2 separate regions of the Homo sapiens genome follow, and region 1 is linked to region 2. The links are contacts of gene promoters, found by promoter capture Hi-C in blood cells and fetal thymus (Javierre and others, 2016). All regions are on one chromosome and are shown on one strand. Each heading gives the region's core, a stretch centred on a gene start or on the middle of the fragment in contact. The rest is flanking DNA. Distances are from core to core; before and after follow the strand shown.

The links. The method cuts DNA at HindIII sites, captures the fragments that hold promoters and counts their contacts. A CHiCAGO score of 5 or more calls a contact.
Region 1: a fragment that was not itself captured here is called in contact with the fragment with the promoter of PEX12 in region 2 in 4 of 17 cell types (non-activated CD4 T cells, naive CD4 T cells, naive CD8 T cells and 1 more); the score reaches 8.1 in non-activated CD4 T cells.

Annotation. Positions count from the first base shown.
Region 1 is chr17:35,292,625-35,299,757 of GRCh38, forward strand. No RefSeq gene overlaps it. Among named protein-coding and RNA genes, the nearest start is that of SLFN5, 53 kb to the left of the region's middle. The HindIII fragment of the contact is 4,202 bases long and covers 1,971-6,172 here.
Region 2 is chr17:35,577,321-35,584,244 of GRCh38, forward strand. PEX12 (peroxisomal biogenesis factor 12) reads right to left here and starts at 1,251. Exons shown (of 3, transcript NM_000286.3): 1 at 576-1,251; 2 at 1-271. The coding sequence starts at 701. RefSeq lists an enhancer at 515-1,330. The HindIII fragment of the contact is 3,440 bases long and covers 1-2,498 here.

The DNA of each region.
Region 1 (7,133 bases), core at 2,822-5,321, 280 kb before region 2:
GGACCTGGGTCCAGAGTATGGAATGATGCAGGTTGGAGGGGCCATCCCACGCACGCTAGTAAAGTTAGTGAACATGAATGAAACATGGAAGTGTATGTGTCTTGATTATGGTCTTCACTCTGGGATCTGAGAGAAACACACAGCTCCTCAGTGGTTCAGACTTGCAAATAATTTATCTTGAGTCTTATCAGCTTACAGCCACCTAAAACACGAAGCTATGCTAATGTTCCCTGTGATAGCCTTGTTTGGGTTTAGAAAATTCTTATGTGGCCAGTTGGGATCTGAGGTATAAATCTACTCTTAAATAAACAGCAGGAATTGCCTTTAAAGACTTGCTCCAAGACAAATGAAGAATTTGTGGCTTACCTGATGTAGTTGTGACTATGAAGATCATGGAAAAGATTAAGAATGTGCTTTACTGTGGCAACATTCTTGGCATTTGTGGAAATTTGCTTTTGAGTAAATTTATTAGGTAAGCAATTTGACTGCGATGATAGCAAATAAATATTATTACTTATTTGCTATCCATTTCATTTTCCTAAATAACTTAGAGAGGGATTCTTTCTGGTTTCATTGGTAAAAGTAATGTTACATATTCTCAATACATTGCAGTTTAGTATTTAACTTTGCTTCTTTGTTAACTGGGAAAGCATGACTTGGTTTCTAAAAATTTTAACAGAATGAAAAACATCTGCCAGGCAGTGATACAAAAATTCTTCATGAATCATCTCAATAGATGCAGAAAAAGCATTTGATAAAAGTCAGCACCCTTTCATGATACAAATCTTCAACAAACTTCAGAAGAACTACCTTAAAATAATAAAGGCCCTATACAACAAACCCACAGCCAGCATCATACTGAATAGGAAAAAGTTGCAAGCATTCCCTCTAAGAACTGGAGCAAGACAAGGATGTTCATTCTCACCACTCCTATTCAACATAGTGCTGAACTCATAGGGCAATCAGGCAAGAGAAAGAAATAAAAGGTATCCAACTTGGAAAAGAGGAAGTCAAATTATCTCTGTTCACTGGCAATATAACCTTATATCTAGAAATTGCTAAAGACTTCTCCAAAAAGCTCTAGATCTGATAAATGAATTCAGTAAAGTTTCACAATACGAAATCAGTGTACAAAAGTCATTAGCATTTCTCTGCATTAATAATGATCAAGCAGAGAACCAAATCAAGAAGGCAATCCCATTTAACATAGCTACAAAAAATGAAGTAAAATAAAATAAAATGCCCAGGAATATATTTAACCAAGGAGATAAAAGATCTTTACAAGGAAAACTACAAAACACTGATGAAAGCAGTTGTAGATGACACAAACAAATGGAAAAGCATCTTATTCTCATGGATCAGAAGAATTAATGTCATTAACATGACCATACTGCACAAAGCAATCTACAGATTCAATGCAATATCTATCAAAATACCAATGTTGTTTTTCGCAGAGTTGGAAAAAAACAATCTTAAAATTCACTTGGAACCAAAAAAGAGCCCAAATGGCTAAAGCAATCCTAAGCAAAAAGAACAAACTCGGAAGCAACACATTACCTGATCTCAAACTATACTACAAGGCTATGGTAAGCAAAACACCATGGTACTGGTACAAAAATAGACATATAGATTAATGGAACAGAGAACTCAGAAATAAAGCCACACACATACAGCCAACTGATCTTTGGCAAAGTTGACAAAAACATACACTGGGGAAAGGATCCCCTTTTCAATAAATGATGGTGGGGAAATTGGATTGCCACATCCAGAAGAATGCAACTGGACTCCTATCTCTCACGATATACAAGATGGATTAAAGACTCAATTATAAGACGTGAAACTATAAAAATTCTAGAAGAAAACCTAGGTAAAACTCTTGTGGACATTGATCTAGGCAACGAATTTATGACTAAGGCCTCAAAATCACAAGCAACAAAAACAAAAATAGACAAATGGGACTTAAACTAAAAAGCTTCTGCACAGAAAAAAAAATCAATAGAGTGAACAGACCTGCAGAATGGGAGAAAATATTTGCAAACTATCCATTCAACCATTCAACAGGGGACTGGCATCCAGAATTTGTGAAAAACTCAAACTTCAACAACAATAACAGCAACAACAACAAAAGTGGGCAAAGGATTTGAATAGACATTTTTTTAAAGAAGACATACAAATGACCAACAAGCATATAAAAAAATTTTCAGCATCACTAATTGTCAGATAAATGCAAATGAAAACCACAATGAGATATCATCTTACATGAGTCCGAATGGTTATTACTAAAAAGTCAAAAAATAACATATGTTGGCAAAGATGCAGGTCACATTTCTGACCCCTCCAAGAGCAGCTGAAACAACTGTTGCACAGAACCTTCAACTCTTTCCAGCCTCCAGGGTGAGACACAACTGTATATTCTAAAGGGTGATAACTGATTGGAAGGCTTTCCATCTAAGAAGTTTCATACACAGGCTCCTACCCCAGCCTGTGTATGAAACTAGTAGATCTAAGTGCTGGGAGTCCAGAGGCAGACATGACAGGAAAGTTCTGGAATATGTGAACAAACATGAGTACACGGAATGGCAGAGCATGAAAAGGGATAATAGGGTTGTAAAGCAAGGCAGTACAACAGAAAGGCTCTCGGTATCTGTGAATGTGTGTCTGTCTGGTTTGTCTGTCTGGTAAGAGGAGTTGGTACATTAGACTGGGAAGTCAGGGAGGCCTCAGTGAGCAAAAAGCTGCCATGTGAAACCCTAGGGCAGGTTCTTCTCAGTCTTGACATTCACACTGTGATTGAGTGTGGATATGAAGGATGGGACGGGCGGGGCGGGCATTGTGTCAGGTCTTGGAGAGGCCAAGAGAGGCAGAGGCAGGGGCAGGGTAGAAAAACAGAATCAGAGCAAACATTGTCAGTTGCAAATTATCACTTTTGCAACACTGAATTTTCTTGTTTTTCTCCCCTTTCCCTTTCCTTGGCTGGTTAGTTAATATATTTTTATAGCGCCCTTTTCTTTCCTTTGCATGATTGTGAAATCTTGCTGTTTACCTCTACTTTTAACACCATCCTTGTAAAGTCCCACAGTCCTCACAGTGGTCAGGCTGCATCAGCATAATGGAAAAAACAATATTTCTCCTTGATTTAACTTTGGAGAGAGTCTGACAGAAGGAGTGAGTGCTCTCAAATGCCTTCAGTTCTGCTGAGTCCTTAGGAGTCCAGTTAGGCCTTCCTGGGCCATCACTGCTTGAAGCCCAATTATGTGATTTGTCACATCTTCCTCTAGACTATACTCATGCCTAAAGAATCTCCATCCTTGAAACTCCCATTTCCTGCGTTAATTTCCAGGAAATGGACTCCCTTCAAGGATCCTCAGAAAGAATCTAAAAAAGGGTCCTTGAAGGCAGTTAATTTCTGGTTAAATAAAACATCTGCCATCTTTTCAGAATATAGACTTTTCCTTCTTACCATAAAAAACGTGAGCTTGTTCTGGGCAGTGATTTCTTTGCTAGGTCCCAAAAGTACAGGCAATGAAAACAATAATAGACAAATGGTATTGCATCAAACAAAAAAAACTACTGCACAGCAAAGGAAATAATTAACAGAGTGAAGATACAGTCCACGGATTGGGAGAACATATTTGCAAATTATACAGCATAAAATGGGCTAATATCCAAAATATACAAGGTATTCAAATGACTCAATCGAAAGAAACAAATAACTTGATTAAAAACTGGGCAAACAATGTGAATACACATTTTTCAAAATACACACAAATGGCCAATAGATATTTGGAAAAATGCTCAATATTACTGATCAGGGAAATGTAAATAAAACCACAATAATATATCACCTCATGCTGTTAGATTGACTATTACAAAAAAGATGAATGAAAACAAGTGTTGGAGAGGATGAGGAAAAAAGAAAACTCTTGTACACTGTTGGAGGAAATGTAAATTAGTACAGTCATTGATATGGTTTGGCTGTGTCCCCATCCAAATCTGAGCTTGAATTGTATCTCCCGGAATTCCCACATGTTATGGGAGGGACCCAGGGAGAGGTAGTTTAATGATGGAGGCCGTCTTTTCCCATGCTATTCTCATGATAGTGAATAAGTCTCATGAGATCTGATGGGATTATCAGGGGTTTCCTCATTTGCTTCTAGCTCATTTTCTCTTGCCACCACCATGTAAGAAGTGCCTTCACTTCCCGCCATGATTCTGAGATTTCCCCAGCCATGTGGAACTGTCCCAATAAACCTCCTTTTCTTCCCAGTCTTGGGTATGTCTTTATCAGCAGCATGAAAACAGACTAATATAGTAAATTGTTACCAGTAGAGGGGTATTGCTGAAAAGATACCAGAAAATGTGAAAGTGATTTTGGAGCTGGGTAACAGGCAGAAGTTGGAACAGTTTGGAAGCCCCAGAGGAAGACAGGAAAATGTGGGAAAGTTTGGAACTTCCTAGAGACTTGTTGAATGGCTTTGACCAAAATGCTGATAGTGATATGGACAATAAGGTCTAGGCTGAGGTGGTCTCAGATGGAGATGAGGAGCTTGTTGGGAACTGGAGTAAAGGTGGATCTTGTTATGTTTTAGCAAAGAGGCTGGTGGCATTTTGCCCCTGCCCTAGAAATTTGTAAAACTTTGAACTTGAGAAAGATGATTTAGGGTATCTGGTGGAAGAAATTTCTAAGCAGCAAAGCATTCAAGAGGTGACTTGTTAAAGGCATTCAATTTCATAACAGAAGCAGAGCATAAAAGTTTGGAAAGTTTGCAACCTGACTATGCAATAGAAAAGAAAACCCCATTTTCTGGGGAGAAATTCAAGCCAGCTGCAGAAATTTGCATAAGCAGTGAGGAGCCTACTGTTAATCCCCAAGACCATGGGGAAAATGTCTTTAGGCCATGTCAGAGACCTTCACAGCAGCCCCTCCCATCACAGGTCTGGAGGCCCAGGAGGAAAAAGTAGTTTCCTGGGCTGGACAGAGGATCCCTGTGCTGTGTGCAGCCTAGGGACTTTGACAGAACAGGAGCATCACCATCTTGGACAAACACCACCATTCTAAAGTTCCCCTTAATCAAAAACCACCTAAATCCACAGGGCATCAGCCTAAAGGCTAAGGCCAGCATGACCATAAACCATAAATGACATCTCTGACCAGAAACATTTCAACCATAAGATAAACCCCTCCCCAGAGAGATGTCAGCCCCAAGACAACCTCCCCTCCTACCAGAGACATTCCAAACCCACAATAAACTTCTTCCCCACAAAGAAACATTCCAAGCCTATGATAAGCTCTCTCACCCTAAAATCAACAAATACGCTTAATCTGTAAGAGAGTGTGCTCCTGACCAAAATCAGCCAGAAGCCCCTCTCAGGTTTATTCTCCAAAATAAACCTGTCTTTGACTGGTGAGTCACTTTTCGTGTTTCTTTCCTCTTTCTTTAACTCTTACATTTGCTGCCAAAACTCAGGATGGGTGCTGGGGGTAGAGGTTCTCCTGCAACCCAAAAAGCAGTGGACAGCAGCTGCTCATCCTGCTGGATCCTGAGAGTCTCTGGCCACCCATCTTGTCTTGTCTCTCACTTCACTTTTCTAGCAATTTGTCTGAGGAGGACAACTAACCTGAAGGGGACTGTGAGGCTCAGGCTGGGGCAAATCTCCAGTGAACCCTCAAAGCCCTCAGGTCTTAGGAATCCACCTCTGGCTGCCCACAATGGGTATTTTGCTCTCTTCCCTCCTCCCTCATCCTCTTCTCTCTCTCTCTCTCTCTCTCTCTCTCTCTCTGTCTCTCTCTCCCTCTCTTCCTTGTGAAGCTCTAGTCCAAGGGGCCCTTTGCCAATTCCAATCAGAACATCCAACATCGGACACTAATCCAGCTGACTAGTAAGATCTGCCCTCTCCTGACTTTCTCACAGCACCTGGGAGAGTCAGGTCAGCTGTCCCGGTCCTCAGAGGACCAGTGGGACTAAGCTAGAAGAAATCTTGGAGATGCCCAGTTTCTTCGCAGCTTGATCATCCTCTTTATAAAGAGGATTCCAGGTTTCTGTCTTTTATCTGTGGATGCCTAGAACAAAAACAGACACCTTCAGCTTCCTCTTACCAGTCCACATGGGTGCCAAACAATCCCACTTTCCTAAGTCCTCTCCATTGGGCTGTCTCCTTCACAATGTTGCTAAGCTTGGCTTAAAGGAAGCATAAAGCCAAAGAGTATGCTTTTTTATTGCAACATGGCCTGGCCCCAATACAAATTAGATAATGACAGCTGGTAGCCTGAAAATGGCACCTTTGACTTTCAAATTCTCAGGGACCTTGACAACTTTATAACTAGGAACAGCAAATGGCAGGAGGTTCCCTATATTCAGGCTTTCTTTTACTTTAGATCCCAACCCTCCCTGTGTCAAACTTGCACCCCTCATGAAGTCTTTCTTCTTAATGATAACCTTCCCCAGGTCTCTCCTTTCTCTGAAACTCCTTCCTCCAAAACCCCTTTGACCCTGCAGATGAACCCCCTCCATATTCTTATCCCCCTGCATCTGCTCCTCAACCTATCTGAATCCTCCACTTCAGTGACGCCTCCTGCCCGCAAGCTTTCAGCTCCAAACCCTGCTCCTTCTCCTTCTCCATCTGTTACCCATTCAAAAACTGCTCCAACCAGTCAAACCACCCTGCCATTCTCCGTCTCCAGGAAGTGGCTGCGGTTGAAGGCATTGCTCCCATTCATGCCCTTTCTCCACATCTGATTTGTCGCAGATCAAACAGTGCCTGGGATCTTTCTCTGAAAATCCCCCTGACTAGTGCAGGGAATTCCTGCACATAACCCAATCCTTTAATTTAACATGGCATATTTATATAATTCTAACCTCCACCCTCACCCCTGATGAAAAACAGCTCTCAATTTAATTAAAATGAATATTCAAGCTATGAGTATATTCAAAAGGCCTTTATGTTTTTCTCTTCATAAATCTTGTTTTCCTGGAAAAGGTTTTTTTCCCCAGTCAACTGAATTACTTTTCTCCACTCTGTCTTACCACTCTTGGTGCATATATGAAAAATCCCAAAATGACTTCTGGTGGCCTGGGACTCCTTGGGAAAACAGAAAAGCTGCCACAAATCCCGTTTTGGGAAAAAATCTGTTT
Region 2 (6,924 bases), core at 1-2,500:
GCTTCTCCAGCTTCACTTTCAGATAGGGAAGAAGAACCAGGAACATAATAGATTTCCAAAGCTGCTGCTTTGGGAGACCAGCACTAGCCAATCTCTGAGACTTGTGAGTGTCCCCCATTACAATTCTCTTTAAGCCGTAAAAGTTTTCAGAAAATGAGGCACTGGTTCTAGACAGATAATGTTGCTGGAGCAGAAGATCTAGCAGAGTAAAGATTTCATCAAACCACCTCCACAAGAAGCCATAGTGGGTGGGATTTGATTCTGCAAGAACCTAAAGCAAAATAAAGCAATAAGTGAAATTCATTCCATTACACAAGTTCTACACCTATTTACATTCCCCCTTTTCCTCTAAAGTCTACACAATTTGTTTTAAATAAGTCACTGTTGGACCCTGAAATGCTGGGTATTCAGTACAGGTCTCTACACATAACAGAGACTCAGTAACTCTTAAGTCATGGGATACAAGTTATTTGCAAATTGGCTATTTCAAACGCTAGGCTACCAAATAAGCACAAATTATTCGTTTGTTTTTTACCCAGTTGTCCCTAAAACCTTTCCAAGAATTAATACCTTACCTTGACCACATGCTGAAGAGCGGGTCTCACTGCTGTCATTAAACTGTCCTGTGCTACCACCTCAAAGATGGATGGCTGGTCATCGGCCACAGAAGCAGCTGTGAAGTGAGCCCCGTGCTCAGCCATAGTTTCCTGCGTGTACTGGCTTTCACTTTTCCCACAAACTCTCTCGTGAGCATGAACTTTTTCGGGAGGAAGAGTATCAGATGGGTGCTCAGTCTTAAAGGTAAACTTTCTGCATGATATCTGAAACTCGAAACTCAATCTTATGGGCAAAAATGAACTGGGAAAAAAAGACCTGGAGGCCGAGGGTAGTCTCAAGAAGGTTAAGAACAAAGTTAACTCGGACGTGGGTGGAAGTAGTATGTGGCGAGGGGGTAACTTGTCAAATGCTGCACGTCAGGGCAGAGCGTGACTGTGGGGGACAGGTATGGGGGAAGGAACGCAATCCTCTGGAGCTGCGAACCAGAAACGCCCCCTCCTCCCCAATCGTGAGAGCTCAAAAGCCAGCCGACTCTGAGGATTCAGTCGTGCCACTGTGAGCCCGGGACACAAGGGCTGACTCCAGCTGTTGGCTTTGAGTATCCCCGCCCGCGCCCGTCCTTGCTCGCTGACCCCAGGCGAGGCGCAAACAACCCACGACGCCACGTTTGAAGGGAGGTCTCCGCTTTATGACAGAAGCCGCACCCGGAAATGAAACCACCAGGACCTCTGGGATGCCTGGCGGAAGAGAGGCGCTCTAGTTCCGAATGCGGTCCGGAAACCAGAACTAGAGAACTCTATGACCCACCTGAGCTTCCGCTCCCGCCCCGCTGAAACAGAAGAGGGCCCTTGTGGGCTGGTTTTGGCTAGTTTGGTTTACTTTTCGTAGCTGGGTCTGCATGGTAGCCTCGCTGGAAAGCTACAGCTCTGAACCTCTCTCTGCGAGGTCTTTTTGACAAGCTGTTTGGGGCACCGCGCAGACGTCTGGCGCCGGGAGCCAGAGCTCGGGCCCGTTGCTGAGCCCTGTGTTCCTGCAGGCGATGAAGCTAGGGGCGGTGGGAGGAAGGGAATCTGGAGGTGGAAAGGACTTTGCTGTACGCGTGCGGCAGGGATGGTGGTTAATTTATATGTCTTAGCCTTCCAGAAATGATTTAAAGCGACATAGCAGGAGATAGGAGCCTTAGATTTATTGCCGCCAATTATAAGGAAAGATGATTGGATTGAGAAAGGTTCATGCTTGTTCCTCAGTACTTGAGACGGTTAATTTTCATCCAAGCTGGTAGTTTAACGTCTTCCAGGTTTTGGCTATATTCAAGCATAACTGCATGCACTTGCTATACTGGATGAAAATGGTCTCCATCCTTGAACACAGTTGTATATGTCACCACCAGCGATATGAATACAGTACTAACGCAGAGGGAGCTTTATGAATTGTAACTAGCATGCACTGGGGACACTTGACAGAAAGTTTCCTTTCATGCCGTTTTTATACCAAAATGAATGTGATTTACCTTAAGGTTTGTAAAGTGCTTTTATGTTATGTACAGCTTTGTCTCGCTGAAGTTGGCTGACACAGCCTTATTGAATTTGGATGAGAGTTCCACCTCTCCTCCCTTCCTCTGGGAAGTGCCACCTCTGGGCTAAATAGCTGGGAATAGAAGGTATTGTTTACTGCCCTAGAGGCCCTTATGTTATAAAAATAATTGGTTTGCATAATGAGAACCCTCAAAAACAAGGTTTGGATTTAGTTATTCCAATAGGAGAGAAAACCTTACAAATTGTCCTTAATTATAGTTATAAAAAGTGTTTTTTACTCTACCAAAAGACATTATATTGATATATGATTTTTACCTTACAGAGTTTTAAGACTAGACATAGTTTATCCATATGAAGCACCTGGATACATATTAGGTGCTTGTTTAATAGTAACTGTTATGTACAAGCTTTTCTTAAGTGAATAGCAAAAATACAAAGTTGAGAGGTAGCATCAACTAAATCAAGCAGGAAATTAAACATTTTTGTCACTTAGGGATCTTTGGTTACAAGCAACAGAAACAAACAGGCTAATTTAAACTAAAACGGAATTTATTAGAAGTGTATGGAGTAGCTCACAAAATAAGTAAAGCCAGCCCTGAAAGAACAGGAACTTAACAATACTATTGGGACTGCCTAACAGGAATTAGAAGTTCTTATCCAGGCAACGTTGTTGCAGTGAACGAGCTTCCACCAATTTCTGTTTGTGACTCTGCTCGTGATACAAATTTTGACTGACCTCTCTTGGTTCAAGTTCCCTCTCCACCCTGTCTTTCACTCTTAGCCAGGGGAAGGCAGGATGTCTTGATTGATAGTCCCATGGAAGTACTCCAAAAGTTAACTAAACGTATGGCATAAGAACGCCTATAATCCCAGCACTTTGGGAGGCCGAGGCGGGTGGATCACCTGAGGTCAAGAGGTCATGACCAGCCTGACCAACATGGAGAAACCCAGTCTGTACTAGAAATACAAAAAATTAGCTGGGTGTGGTGGCACATACCTGTAATCCCAGCTACTCGGGAGGCTGAGGCAGGAGAATCGCTTGAACCCTGGAAGCGGAGGTTGTGGTGAGCCGAGATTGCACCATTGCACTCCAGCCTGGGTAACTGAGCGAGACTCCATCTCCAGAAAAAAGAAAAGAAAAAGGAAAGGTAGGGCCTGGTATGGTGGCTCATACCTGTAATCCCAGCACTTTGGGAGGCTGAGACGGGTGGATCACGAAGTCAGGAGTTTGAGACCGGCCCAGCCGACATGGTGAAAACCCATCTCTACTAAAAATACAAAAATTAGCTTGGAATGATGGTGCATGGTGGTGGATGTCTGTTATCCCAGCTACTCTGGAGGCTGAGGCAGGAGAATCACTTGAACCCGGGAGGTGGAGGTTGCAGTGAGCCGAGGTCACACCACTGCACTCCAGCCTGGGGGACAGAGTGAGACTCTGTCTCAAAAAAAAAAAGAAAACAGAAATTTGCAACTCGAATAAGAGGTCTGGGAGGCCCAAATCTTTTAGACGTGATAATCGGAATGCCCTTCTGAGGACATAACAAAGGCCTAAATTATGAGGAGCCAGCCATATGAGGAGTTGGGGAAAAGAATATTAGGCAGAAGGAAGAGTATTGTGAAGACCCTAAGGTGGGAAAGAGCTTGGTGTGTTTGAGGGCTATTATAACTGGCAAAAGGTGAAATGATGAGGAAATGAGCAGTAACTGAAAAGCACAAAATGATGTTAGAGAGGTAGACAGGCCAAACCATGCAGGGACTCACAGGCCATGGGAACAACCCTGGATTTTAGCCCAAGTGCAATGGGAAGCCAATGAAGGATTCACACACCAGAGATGTGTGATCAGGTATATATATAAACAAATATATATATATATATATATATATATATATATATATATATATACAAATATATATATAATATATACAAATATATATAATATATATACAAATATATATAAAATATATATACAAATATATATAAAAATATATATACAAATATATAATATATACAAATATATATAATATATAATAAATAAAATATATAAATATATAATATATATTTATATATTTGTATATATTATATATTTGTATATATATTTGTGTATATATACATATATTAAAAAATATATATATATATATTTTTTTTTTTTTGAAACAGAGTTTTACTCTTGTTGCCCAGGCTGGAGTGCAATGGCATGATGACTCACTGCAACCGCCGCCTCCTGTGTTCAAGCGATTCTCCTGCCACGGCCTCCCAAGTAGCTGGGATTACAGGCGCCCGCCAACATGCCCGGCTAATTTTTGTATTTTTAGTAGAGATGGGGTTTCACCATGTTGGCCAGGCTGGTCTTGAACTCCTGGCCTTGTGATCTGCCCACCTTGGCCTCCCAAAGTGCTAGGATTACAGGCGTGAGCCACCGTGCCTGGCCAGGTTTATATTTTTTTAAAGATGTCTCTGATGGTTTTGTGGGTATGCAGTATTTATATCAAGCTTTACATTTATGATATATGCACATTTTTGTTTTTGTTTTTGTTTTCTTGAGATAGAGTCTGGCTCTGTAGCCCAGGCTGGAGTGCAGTGGCACAGTCTCGGCTCACTGCAACCTCCACCTCCCGGGTTCAAGTGATTCTCCCACCTCAGACCCCCCGGAGTAGCTGGGACTACATGCATGTGCCACCACACCCGGCTAATTTTTGTATTTTTAGTAGAGACAGGGTTTTGCCATGTTGGCCAGGCTGGTCTCAAACTCCTGGCCTCAAGTGATCCCCCTGCCTCAGCCTCCCAAAGTGCTGGGATTACGGGTGTGAGCCACCACATCAGGCCAGATATGCACATTTTTAAATGTATGTTATACATCCAAAAAAGTTAAACAACCTGGCCACTACGTGGAGAATGGTAGAGAGAAGACTTATAGCCTTCTAATAGTCTAGGCAAAAGGTGATGGTGGATTTATGAGATTGAATAGAGGGAGTTGGATGGCTTGGAGTTGTTGTTTTTTTTTTTTTTTTTTTTTTTTTTGAGACAGTCTTGCTCTGTTGCCCAGGATGGAGTGCAGTGGCGCAATCTCGGCTCACTGCAACCTCTGCCTCCCGGGTTCAAGCAGTTCTGTACCTCAGCCTCCCGAGTAGCTGAGATTACAGGCGCCCACCACAACGCCTGGCTAATTTTAGTAGAGACGGGGTTTCATCATCTTGGCCAGGCTGGTCACGAACTCCTGACTTTGTGATCCACCTGCCTTGGCCTCCCAAAGTGCTGGGATTACAGGTGTGAGCCACAGCGCCCAGCTACGGCTTTGAGATTTTAAAGGTAGAATTGACAACTGGAGATGGATTGGATGTGGCAGTTGAAGGAAAGGGAAATCAGGAATGACCCCTAGGTTTCTGGCTTGAGCAGCTCAGTGCAATTTATTAAAATAATCACAATTACAGGAAATAGTTCCATAGTCCATGCTATATGCCAGCCATAGTTCTAAGTGCTTTACATTTAATTTATTTCATTGTTCAATATTATGATTAGATGTTACTATCTTCCTCCATTTTATAGATGAGAAAACCAAAGAAAGCACATAGATGGAGGAAACTGGGGGAAGAATAGCTTTCAAACATGTTAGGCAATGAGAAGTTGATGAAAGTTTTTGAACAGCAGAGAGGTATGAATCAAAGCTCTTAAATATTTTTCTTTTTCTTTTTTTTTCCTTTTCCTTTTTTTTTTTTTTTTTTTTTTTTTTTTTTTTTTTTTTTTTGAGATGGAGTCTTACTTTATTGCCCAGGCTGCAGTGTAGTGGTGTGATTTCGGCTCACTGCAACCTCCTCCTCTCAGGTTCAAGTAATTCTCCTGCCTCAGCCTCCCTAGTACCTGAGACTACAGGCATGTGCCACCATGCCTGGCTAATTTTTGTATTTTTAGTAGAGTCAGGGTTTTACCATGTTGGCCAGGCTGGGCTCAAAGTCCTGACCTCAGGTGATCCACCTGCCTTGGCCTCCCAAAGTGCTGTGATCACAGGCGTGAGCCACCACGGCCAGCCTCTTGAAGATTTTTCTAATGACATCTTTACGAAATCTACCTCTGTCTGCTAGCAGTTGTACCTTGAACGAGTTTTTTCTCTCTCTCTCTCTCTCTCTCTCTCTCTCTCTCTCTCTCTTTCTTTTTAGAGACGGTCTCACTCTGTCACCCAGGCTGGAGTGCAGTGGCATGATCATGGCTCACTACAGCCTCAAACTCTTGGGCTCAAGTGATCCTCCCACCTCAGCCTCCCAAAGTGCTGGGATCATAGGTGTAAACTGCTGTGCCCAACTCTGTAACCAGGTTTTTCTAACCTCCTCCATTCCTTATGATTTAACCCAGCAGTATAGTTATCGATTTGGTGATGAAATTTGGGGAATAGGTCTAGGCTAGAGATAAGAGATTTTGGAGCCATATATGTAAGAAAGATAATTAAAACCATGGTATGCTAAAGGGTTAGTGTAGAGAAAATGTATGAGTATAGAACTAAACTTGAAAAAATTGGCTGAGTTTGGTGGCTCATGCCTATAATCCCAGCATTTGGGGAGGCCAAGGCAGGAGGATCACTTGAGCCCAGGAGTTGCAGACCAGCCTGGGCAACATGGCAAGACCCCCTCTCTACAAAAAAAGAAAATTAGCTAGGCGTGGTGACACATGCCTGTAGTCGCAGCTACTTGGGAGGCTAGGTAGGAGGATTGCTTGAGCCTGGGAGGTCAAGGCTGCAGTGAATTGTAATGGCACCACTGCACTCCAGCCTGGGCAACAGTGCAACACCCTGCCTCAAGAAAGAAAAAATCCTTGCCACTGTTTTCCTCAGATACCATTTCT